Regions from separate parts of the Homo sapiens genome. Here regions 2 and 3 are each linked to region 1. The links are contacts of gene promoters, found by promoter capture Hi-C in blood cells and fetal thymus (Javierre and others, 2016). All regions are on one chromosome and are shown on one strand. The core of a region is centred on a gene start or on the middle of the fragment in contact, and the rest is flanking DNA. Distances in the headings are between cores, read along the strand shown. Region 1 holds the start of COX16 (cytochrome c oxidase assembly factor COX16). Region 2 holds the start of LOC124903341 (a long non-coding RNA gene). Region 3 overlaps SLC8A3 (solute carrier family 8 member A3).

Region 1 (3,790 bases), core at 664-3,163:
AGCTACTACTTAGGTGCCGGGTTTTGATGGAGTAGTATCCAGTAGGCTGATGTTTTATGTAGTGAAGATGTAGGAAAACGCTAGAGTTTTAGAGCAGCGCCTTTGGCTTCTAGGATCTTAGGGAAAGTAGGAGATGTGATACGCTTAACTAACCTGGATGCCACGTGAGATTTATTTATTTATTTTTGAAACAGGGTCTAGCTGTGTCACCCAGGCTGCAGTGCAGTGGCATGATCACGGCTCACTGTAGCCTGGACCTCCTGGGCTCAAGTGATCTTCCCACCTCAGCTTCCCAAGTAGCTGAGACCCCACCATGCCTGGCTAATTTATTATTATTATTATTATTTGTAAAGATGGGGTCTTGCTTTGTTGCTCAGGCTGGTCTCGAACTCCTGGGCTCAAATGATCCTCCTGCCTCAGCCTCCCAAACTGCAGGTATTACAGGCATGAGCCACCATGCCTGGTCTGCATGAATTTTGAAATATCAAAAGGAAGTAAATAAGATGGGAGAGATGCACCGTTCCTGGGTTTCTGGAGGTATTGAAATACAGGTTGATGTGTAGAGTGGTGGAGCAAACTCCTATTCCATCTCCTTGCTTCAAAAACCCATTTAACATATTTTCCTTGGATAGAGAATGTGTCAAATATTAAACTGTTAAGAACAGATACTACACTTGATCTTAGCCAAAAGGATAAGTTTCACTGGAGTAGCCTGCAGTAGATCTGGAGCTTCTCTTCTGGAGACCACTTAAGAGGCTACTTTAATAGGTGAAAAGATGATAAGGAATTAAAAAAAGGAACATTTCAGTGGTAACAGAGAGGCAGGGACAGATGGAAATATTTCAGGAATAGCATGGAAGATAATATTCCGCATCACCTGCACTCTGATTCACTCTGGTAAATGGGACACGTGGGGGATCGGCTTCCTAAGCTATCCCAGTACTTCACACATGTTTGTTTCTGTGCCCATGAAATCGCCAGTGTCTTTAAGGTAAGGATCATATATTTTTATCTGTGTTCCTAGAACCCTTTCAAAGACACGCTGAAAGGTGGCCTGTATGGTTGCTGAATCATTGGTAAATAGACATTCATAAATGACTAAAGATTACAGGTTATCTCACAGTAAAATCATTAGCATTAAAAGTTCAGTAATGACTGATGAGACACTACACTGATTACATTTCAACCTAATCTTTCAAAAGCGATTTATTTTTAAAAGTCTCCATTAAACTGGCAAATTCCTCATCCCACAAATAGCCATAAAGACTGGAGTACCAGCTTCAAAATACTTTTTTTTCTTTTTTCTTTTTGAGACGAAGTCTCGCTCTTGTTCCCCAGGCTGGAGTGCGATGGCGCGATCTCTGCTCATTGCAACCTCCGCCTCCCGGGTTCAAGCGATTCTCCTGCCTCGGCCCCCCAGTAGCTGGGATTACAGGCGCCTGCCACCACGCCCGGCTAATTTTTGTATTTTTTTTTTTTAATAGAGACGGGGTTTTACCATGTTGACCAGGCTGATCTAGAACTCCTGACCTCAGGTGATCTACCGGCCTCGGCCTCCCAAAGTGCTGGGATTACAGGCCACCCACCCAGGCCACCGCGCCCGGCCTCAAAATACTTTTTTCCTTAGCTGATTTTATCGAGTGGCTATGTGCCTAAGGGAGTGTTCTAAGCAGACGTTAGTTAGGACCCAGAACGTGGGAAGTACTGGTTTCCAGATCAATTTGGTGGTGATCGTAAACCGATTCAAATCTCTAAATCCCAATTGCACGCCGACGTTACGGAACCAAAAACGCTGACGCCCACATTTCTGGGCGGACGCACAAGTATGTTACGATGGCTCGATTGCTTTTGCCTAGCGGAAACCATTCACTAAGGACCGAGCACCAAATAACCAAGGAAAAGGAAGTGAGTTAAGGACGTACTCGTCTTGGTGAGAGCGTGAGCTGCTGAGATTTGGGAGTCTGCGCTAGGCCCGCTTGGAGTTCTGAGCCGATGGAAGAGTTCACTCATGTTTGCACCCGCGGTGATGCGTGCTTTTCGCAAGAACAAGACTCTCGGCTATGGAGTCCCCATGTTGGTGAGTGGAGTGAGGAGGATCTTCCGCAAGGGGTGGGACCCTCCTCCTTGGCAGGATCAAGACCTGGGAGGGAATCTGTAAAATGTGAAGTTAAGGGCTGGCACTCGGGCTAGGAAGGAGCTAGCGACGGGGTGAGAGCTTTCCTAAAAGCTCTTCCACCAGTCTTTTCCACACCCCCACTTCCCCGCCGCTGTCCCCCACTCCCGGTTGGATTTCAGGTGTACTAGGATCTGTCTGCTTGTGAGCGTGGCGTCTTTCCCATCGTCGAACGCGGTCATTGTTACTACCCTTGATTCACAGTTAAGTAAATTGAAGCTCAGAGAATTCAGTCAGAACCACACTTTAAGCCAAGTTTGGATGATTACTAAGCTTGCTTCCTCGCCCCCAACTTAGCTATGTTTTGACGATACTGTGGATCATTGGGACTAGATGTATTCCATTTAACTGCACGAATTCCTGGTATCTTTCTGTTTCATCTTTCTAGTTTGTGAATTAGCTTAATACTTAGAGTTGTGATGAACTAATAACACCTTGTGAATAAAGTGTTGAGTACGGTGCCTGCCACATTGTAGCCAGAATGATTGCTGTGTTATAATTTCTAAAGCACGTTGAAAACAGCTTCCGTGTTTATATGGTTTCATCCATATCCACACTGAGTTCCCTAAGGATGTCATGAAATGCAGGCTGAGGCTGGCTTAAGACAACCAGAGTTGAAATCCAGATGACTCTTATTTGCTTTTTGATTACGGGCCAGTTATTTTGCTTCAGCAAGCCTTGATGTGTTAGTAAATGAAATAATTAAAGCATATGAACAAAAGCTGCTTTTAAATACAGACTATATTTTTATTTTGTATGAATGTTGGCGCAGATGAAATTACCAGCTTTTCCATTTAAGCAGACTAAAGGAAAGAAGTGATCTTAGAAAGGTAATGGATATTTTACACAGTTTTGAAAAATCCACATTCATCAAATGTGGATTTTAGGAATCTCCAAAAGATTCACCCATTTGAAGTATCTGGGCCAAGCACGATGGCTCACACCTGTAATCCCAGTGTTAGGGGAAGCCAAGACAGGAGGATCGCTTTAGGTCAGGAGTTCCAAACCAGCAAGACCTCTGTCTCTCCAAAAAAAAAAAAAAAAAAAAAAATTGTTGTTTTTAGCAAATTCGATATTAGTATACTAATATATTCGTATATTAGTATATTCTTAGTTATGGAGCCATCACCACAATTTTAGAACATTTTCATTGCCCCCAAAAAAGCATCATAACTAATAGTAGTCACTTCCCATTTCTTCCTGCCTCTTAATGCTGGCCTGGTAAACCACTAATCTACTTCTACCCGTAAATTTGCTTATTCTGCACATTTCATATTAACACACTAATACAACGTGGGTTTTTTGTGACTGGATTCTTCCACTTAGAATGTTTTTAAGGTTCATTCACATTGTAACATATATCAATACTTCATTCCTTTTGATGGATATAATTCCATTGTTTGGATATATTTTATCAATTGATGAACATTTGGGTTGTTTCAATTTTTGACTATTATGAATAATGCTGCTATGAACATTTATGTACACGCTTTGTGTGGAAGTATGTTTTCATTTCTCTCAGGTAGGGAATATACCTAGACGTGGAATTGCTAGGTCATATGGTAACTCTTCAACTTTTTAGGATGTGCCAGATGTTTTCCAAAGTGGCTGCATCAT
Region 2 (3,790 bases), core at 833-3,332, 460 kb before region 1:
GAAAGGCTCCCCAGAGTGTGGACCTTTTTTTTTTTTTTTTTTTTTTTTGAGATGGTGTCTCACTATGTCACCCAGGCTGGAGTGCAGTGGCATGATCTCAGCTCACTGCAGTCTTGATCTCCTGGGCTCAAGCAATCCTCCCACCTCAGCCTCCCAAGTAGTTGGGACTACAGGCGTGCACCACCATGCCCAACTAATTTTTTTTTTTTTTTTTTTTGTAGAGCTGGGGTTTTGCCATATTGCCTATGCTGGTCTCAGAACTCCTTGGGCTCAAGTGATTCACTTGCCTCGGCCTCCCAAAGTGCAGGGATTACAGGCATGAGCCACTGCACCCGGTCGGAGCTAGGTCTTAAAGGATAGGTAAGACTTCATCAGGCAGGAGAAGCTGTGTTTGCAGGAAATGGTGGGATTATGGCAGGGTGACTACGAGGACATGGAATTATAATATGGCTGAGGGTGACAGAACTATCATCAGACGCCGTCTTGTGTCATCAGACTCCTTGTATTTATGCTGCAGAGGCCACACTTGGCAGGCTGATTTCAGGGGCATCAATCAAGAAGTCTCTGTGAAGTCACAGGCTTTCAAGATTCTTCTTCCCTTGCTTGCTGGGAGTGGCTGTTCCTCTGTTCACCTCCATTTCTTCAGAGCTGGAAGAGATGTGAGAATGATCTGGTGCAATCCCCTGCACCATGGTTGGTATGGATGGGTATCCCCATGTTATAAATGAGGCAACCGCGGCCGAGAGAAGCTGCAGCCAGTCCTTGGGGACGCGGCACCCAGGACTGCTTCTCCTAGAATTCAAGATGCTTCTTTTCTTTCCTCCCTTTTAGGTTTCAAATCTCTATTTCAGGCAATACTTGATATATTATGTATTTATAATTCAAGTTTTCAGACTTTTCTTAGCAGCAGGTTATAAAAAGGAGAGAAGCAGAAGCTGAGACAGGGAGGAAGCAAACAGAATGGGGCAGAGGTGGGAGTGGGAGGCTGAAGGCTTCCAGGAAGATAAGCTTCCTCGACTGTTAGTGGATTCCGCATCTGCGGCAATTCTACCCCCATCCGGACTAGAGGCTTTGGGACTACTGAGAACCAGGACCACCTATTTTCACAGCAAATGCCTGGAAGGAACCCAGGTGTCACATGTTGAGGGTTTATCAGAATAAATGGCTGTTATTTTCTTTTCCTCTTCCCTTTCCTTCTCACCTACCCTTATTAGTGATCTAGTGTCATAGCTGCAGAGTGACAGCAGGGAGACAGGAGTGAGCGGAGAGTGTGGGACAGAGGGGAAGAAAGAGAAACAGGCCATACGCAGACCTACAGGCAGCTCCTGAGCTACCCAGATCGCTTCTCCTGTACAGGAAGAGCTGCTGGCCCGAGGGAAGGGAAGAGGGGGTCCCTGTTGGAGCAACTGGAGTGGCAGGAGGCGAGTGGGTCGAGGGAGAGTTATTAATATGCACTAGAACACATATTTACAACTGGTGGCTTAAATTAAGGGCAGCACATTCACACCTAGCTACTCCCAGGCTTCCCACAAAGACATCTGAAGCGTGCAAAGCGCGCTCCCTGAGCCCAGCCCACCAAGGGGCGCGGCCCGCCTTGGTAGGGACAAGGTCTCTGGCGCTGGCCTGAGCGGCTGCGGGAGTTCGCTCCTGGGAGAGCGCAGCGAAACCGAGGGCATCCTTCCCTGTAAGAGGAGGGGGCGGAGGAAGGGAGGAGGGGAGGAAGGAAGGAGGGGAGGAGGGGAGGAGGAGAGGAGGAGGGAAGAAGGAAAGTGGGGGTGAAGGGAAGGAGGAAAGGAGGCGGGGAGGGAGAGACGGAGGAAGAGAGGGTGGGAAGAAGGAAGGAGAGAGAGAGGGCGAAGAGGGGAGAGAGGGGCGAACGAGAGAGATGTGGGGAGAGGGGAGAGGAGAGGGACGGGGCAGGGGAGGGGAGAGCGAGGGAAGAGAGAAAAAGAGAGAACGCAAGGGGGTCGGGGAGAAGAGAGAGGAGAGCGAGAGAGAGCGGGAGGAGAGGGGGAGGGAGAGAGACGGGGGAGAGCGAGACAGAGCGTGGGGAGACGGGGAGAGGGGAGAGCGAGAGAGCCAGGGGAGACGAGGAGCGAGCGAGAGGAGAGGGGAAGAGAGAGAGAAGGGGGAAAGCAAGAGAGTGGGGGGAAAGCGAGAGAGAGAGAGGGGAGAGACAGAGGGCGGGGGAGAGCGAGCGCGAGCGAGGGGAGGGGAGAGAGAGAGGCGCGCGCTGGTTGCTCCCGCGAAACCCTAAGCTCCGCCAGCGCTATTGCCCCTCCCGCTGCCAGCCCCGCGTCCACGTGGGGAAACTGTCCCTCCTGTGCCGGGAAGAAACGACTCACCGCCTTGCAGAGGCGCGGAAGCTGTGCGCGGGACGCCACGGCCCCGAAGCCGCGAGTGACCGCAGCTCCGATCCCCCGGCGGGAGGCCTGCCCGAGCGTGGGAGCCGAGCCCAGGGCCCTTTCTCCGCACTGGCTGCGGACCTAACCCTTCCTGGGCCCCTCCTCCCCCTGGGGAGAGAACGTCAGCGCCGAGGATCCTGATGCGGGGGCGCGGTGGCGCCGACCGAGAGCCCGCCCGGTCCCCGTGTTGGGGGGCAGAAGGGGAGGGGTGGGCCGCAAGGGGCGGAGAGGGCCCGGCGTCCCAGCTGGGATGGAGTTACCAGAATGGGGTTCGAGGCAGCCTAACCCTCCGCGCTGAGTCCTGGAAGGCAGCCTCTGTATGTAGCTCGGTGCATTTTGCACGAAGATAGGCTGCTCCCGGCGGGGTAGGGGGTCGGGGAAAGGTCCTCCTGGGGGTAAACTGATCAGAGAGCCGATAATGGATTCTGGCTCCGACACACGCCACCCCTGCTTGCTTAGTGGCTCTGCACCCCACTTTTTATATAAAGTGGTTATTCAAAGTACCTAGCACATAGGTTTTTTGGTGAATATTGAATGGGAAGGGCAGGTGAAGTCCTTGGCACAGGCCCGGCACACCGACCGATGGACCCAAGAATGTCAATTATTTTTGCTGTTATTCCCTCCAACCTCAGCTGTCCTTTCTCAGAAGCAAAGCTAGGAGACACCAGAAGAGCCGGTGCGAAAGTTTGGCTTGTTTTAACATAAAACCCACACTCCCTAAGGAAGTGGATTCTGAGTGGGAAAAGCTTTGGAGTCAGAAGCAGGAACCCCTGATTGGGTCTTGGGCTTCTGTTCCTTAGTACTGTTCCTTAGTACTTAGCCACACTGAATAAACTCCCTGGGCTTCCGTTTCCTTATTAGTAAAATTGGCTAAAAAGTCCCAACCAGGTAGTACGATCCCTTCTGCCTTTATTGAGGGCTCACTATGTTCTAGGCACTGCTCTTAGGGCTGCCTCCGTATTATCTCAGTTAATCTCTAAGCTAGTTTAGGAGGTAGTTAGGATTATTTAAAATCTCCATTTTGCACTTGAAGAAACCAAGACTTAACAGAGAGGCTAAGTAAATTGTCCTAGACCACACAGTGAGTCATGGCAGAACTGGACAGAACTGAGATTCAACTCAGGCAACCTGGTTCCAGAGTCTGTATTTTTTTTTTAATAGACAAGGTCTTACTCCCTCTCCCAGGCTGAAGTGCAGTGGCGCAGTGGTGCCATAGCTCACTGTAACCTTGAATTCCTGGTAGCTGGGACCACAGGTGTGCACCACTATATCTGGCAAAGTTTTTAATTTTTTGTAGAGACAGGGAGGGACTCACTTTGTGGCCCAGGTTGGTCTTGAACTTCTGTCCTCAAGTGATCCTCCGGTTTTGCCTCCCAAAGCATTGG
Region 3 (3,790 bases), core at 809-3,308, 270 kb after region 1:
GGAGGAAGTGCACCCGAGACAGAAACAATCACATAAGCAAAAATGCAGAAGAATATGAGGATCTGGGAAGGGCAAGTAGCTCAGTAGTGTTGGAGGCCAAGGGACACGAAGGAAGGTGATAAAGCCCTGATGTTAAGGATAGAAAAATCAAAGTCCTTTGAAAATCATGTGGAGTTAGGATCTCAAGAACCCTACAAGGATTTCTTTAGAATAGAATCAAAGAAAAACAAAGTTTACAGTCTGTGAGGGTTGCATAGGAAGTAACGTGGTGAGAAATGTTGGCTTGAGAACCACATATCCATAACACAATGGTGTTTTAGAGGATTTGGGGGAAGGGAGAGAAAATCTCAAATTGTCTCAGTAACTAATGAGCTTTCATGTACATTTAAAATAGTAATAAATGCAATTGTGAGGATGATGGTGAGATGAGCAAAATAATCCAGTTTGTAATTGTAGTTATCAGGCTGGCATATCCTGCAGGTCACACTTCTAAACATGACTTCGAAAAATCAAAGATCAGCTAAGTTTGAAGTAAGTATTGAAAGAGGGAGATTATGTTGCCTCAAGTTAAAATAGAACGTAAAAGATGGTGATTCAAATGATCAAAAGCACCAAGCTTCCCTGTTAGGATTCAAGGGAGGGGTGCGTGGCTCCGACACCAGATATCTGCAAAGCAATATGAAATGAGATCAATAGTAGACATTGAAAGATTGAAACTGATATAGGATATTCAAGTACCAGCTTCAAGAAAATGAAATGAGACCTAATAAAAGAGAGTAGGAGTCAAGGGGGTATACGATATTAAAGAAAGTGAAGAGCCAGGGTTTGTAGGAAGGAAGGGAGAAGAGGCAAAGAGAGCAGCTCTTTTAACACAGGAGCTTCCTCCTTTCCCATTCTCCCTCCTGCTAAAAGCCGAGTTTGTTTTAGCTGAAATGATTGTAAGACAAATTTTTGTTATTAAAAAAGGAGCTATTTTGTGTTGGTTTCCATTATAAAATCAGAGCTCTGCTGCCATAAAATTAAATCCCATAATAAAATGAGTAGAAAACGTGATGTCCTGCAGAAAGGAAGATGGCAGCCCACTCAGTGCCATGCTGGGCTTGACTATATACAAGCCGTGCATCTCCTGCTGCGAGTTGTAGCTGCTGCCCAGCAGTGCACATTATCGTTGCAGCTGTTTTCCTCACATTCTGAGGTTTATGAAATCCCTCATCCATCAATAATTGATCTTTAGCTCTTAGTCCAGGGGTTGTCAACTGGCACTCCATGGACCTTTAGAGGATTGATGGCTAGGTTTTCAAAGATCTTTGAACCCCCTGAAATTATATACAAAATATTGTGTGTGAGTATGTGCATTTTTCTGGTAAGAAGCACCTGAATTATCGAAGCAGTTTGTGATCCCCCAAAAAGCTAAGAACTACTTCCTAGAGCAAAGGGAGATTTTGCTACACTTAGAGATTTACACATTTGACCAGGGCAGCTCACACAAGTGGGATGCGGTTTCACATTTCATGGCAGATCTGCTTCCAGCTATACAAATTCATCAAGGAAATATTGTAATACTTCTATATGAATCAGGAATTCACTATATTTAACTTATTTGGAATAAGAACCACTATATATATACAAGTTTTTCCAAAAGACTGAAGGTTCTTCCTGTGGCAGGAAGGAATATGATTAGATTCATGAAGCGCCTTTATGTTTATATTTCAACTCTGAAAGATAATTGTGACTTTACTAAATCAAACCTGTATACCACGATTAGGAAAATGTGGACTGATTTGGGGTTCTAGGGGTAAAATGTGACCCCTGTGAAGTACCAATGCACCGTTCTTTTATCTGTGAACGGGCACTGAGCTTCTGAAATTAATTAGTAGGCAGGAGGACATGCGCATATGACGTGATAGTTTAAGTACTGATAATTATTCACTTGGAAGGGAAGAGAATAAAATTCAGAACACAGTATTCCTTAATGGGAAATCAACTTAGAGGAGGTAGGAGGGAGATCAAGCAAGAATATTTCTGGTAAAACATGCATAAATCAATGGTCAGCCAATGTGTTGATCAAAGAAATTATCTTTCGGGGAAAACAGTAGAAGGCAATTGAAAAACAAGCATCAGGCTGCATAAAAACAGCAAACAAAAGTCACAATGGCTTGATTGTGTGATGAGGTAATTAATGGCTGCAGTTAGCAAAATATGTTAAAAAAAAAGACAGAAAGGGTAGTTACAGGAGAAAAACATCCCCGCAGATCTTCAAAATCAGAAACAATGAAAATAATTATTTCAAAAATTAAGAAAAAAACTCTCTAATTTATACCTGAATTACCTGGATAATTGGTAAAATTTCCTGCGTATACAAATCTTGGTCCTCTGCTCCTCTCTCTATAAATAAATAGAAATGTATGAATCAATAGTCAGCCAATGTGTTGATCAAAGAAATTATCTTTTGGGGGAAAATTGGTAGAAGCCAATTAAAAAACAAGCATCATATTGCATGAAAACAGCAAACGGAAGTCACAATGGCTCGACGGTGTAATGAAGCCACACAATATGTATTAAACACATCATCTACACAGATGGATTCAAAGATACCTTCTTTGTGTCTAAGTCCCAAATCTGTGTTTCCTGGCTCTGTTCCCTCATATCTAGTCATTCTCCAAGTCAGCATGCCCAACTTGAAAGTGTCATTTTCAAAACCTGCTTCTTCTCTTCTGGAAGTTCTTCCTCTGCCCATTGCTCCACAATCCCCACCTCTTTCACCCAGTAGCAAACCTTAAATTTATCTTTTACTTTGTCTTACTTCCCCTTCTTATATTCAAAATGTTTCTCACTTGCATCTCTTTTCATTCATTTCATAAGCATTTATGAGCTCCTGTTATGGTTTGGAAACTGTTCTTCATGCTGGAGGTGGTCTTATAAACAAGTAATTTCAATTGAGTATTTAGTATGTTAAGTGCCATCCCAAAGGCAAACACCAGCTGTGGGAGGCTCCCCAAATCAGTCTAAGGAAGTTGGGAAAAGCATCTCAGAGAAGATGGTGTCTGAGATGGGGAGGATGTGTGGAACTGGGCAAGGAAGAGAACAAGTAACAACATTCTAGAAAAAGGCCTCTTTCAGCATGCTAAGAAGTTTGGAGGACAGAGGAGTTACCATTCAAAATTTGGAGGGAAGGAAGAGCATACTGAGGTTTGCCACTTGAACAGATAACTTCAGCTGTGTTGGGTGAGTGAAGTTGAGTGGGTACAAATCAGGTCAGGAATATAAGTTAGGAGACTGTTACTAGAATCCAGGCCAGAGGTGATGGTGGCCAATATATGAGAGTTTTAGCAGGGAATGAAAAAAAGAAAATGTGTTCATGAGGTAGAAGTAGGTAAAAAGAACAGGATCTGGTTCCTGATTGGAAATGGGGGTAGTCTGGAGAGGAAGCCAGAATGCAGGCAAGAATGCATAGTGGTACCATCCACTGACATAGGGATTAAAGGAGGAGAAGAAGCTTTGGTAAAGAAAATAAGAAGTTCAGCTATGGAATGTTTGAATTTGATTTCTCTGATGAGGAGTAGTTCTAGGTGATGATAATGCTCAGGGTGTAGACTTGAGAGTGGATGGGTAAAGTAAAGGTTGAGGCTATTAAAAGGGAAAAGGTCAAGGAACTGAGGGCCAAGGATTTATAATAAGTTATCTTGGGCCACTAAAGCCACGCAGGATGCTGGCAGGAAACCTATGAGCCAGGTCTTCAATGTTGAGTCCAGTGACTCAGGTGTCAGAAGCAGCAGGAGAAGCATTGATA

The links. The method cuts DNA at HindIII sites, captures the fragments that hold promoters and counts their contacts. A CHiCAGO score of 5 or more calls a contact.
Region 2: a fragment that was not itself captured here is called in contact with the fragment with the promoter of COX16 in region 1 in 2 of 17 cell types (total B cells and naive B cells); the score reaches 6.6 in total B cells.
Region 3: a fragment that was not itself captured here is called in contact with the fragment with the promoter of COX16 in region 1 in 1 of 17 cell types (erythroblasts); the score reaches 5.4 in erythroblasts.

Annotation. Positions count from the first base shown.
Region 1 is chr14:70,357,806-70,361,595 of GRCh38, reverse strand. COX16 (cytochrome c oxidase assembly factor COX16) reads left to right here and starts at 1,913. Exons shown (of 4, transcript NM_016468.7): 1 at 1,913-2,077. The coding sequence starts at 2,009. The region is part of intron 3 of SYNJ2BP-COX16 (SYNJ2BP-COX16 readthrough); the gene reads left to right. It also overlaps the pseudogene RNU2-51P. RefSeq lists enhancers at 1,334-1,423, 1,884-2,193. The HindIII fragment of the contact is 4,146 bases long and covers 1-2,448 here.
Region 2 is chr14:70,820,678-70,824,467 of GRCh38, reverse strand. LOC124903341 (a long non-coding RNA gene) reads right to left here and starts at 2,595. Exons shown (of 2, transcript XR_007064246.1): 1 at 2,346-2,595; 2 at 484-648. RefSeq lists a silencer at 2,476-2,675. The HindIII fragment of the contact is 2,143 bases long and covers 1,011-3,153 here.
Region 3 is chr14:70,088,465-70,092,254 of GRCh38, reverse strand. The region is part of intron 2 of SLC8A3 (solute carrier family 8 member A3); the gene reads left to right. Among named protein-coding and RNA genes, the nearest start is that of SLC8A3, 99 kb to the left of the region's middle. The HindIII fragment of the contact is 2,880 bases long and covers 619-3,498 here.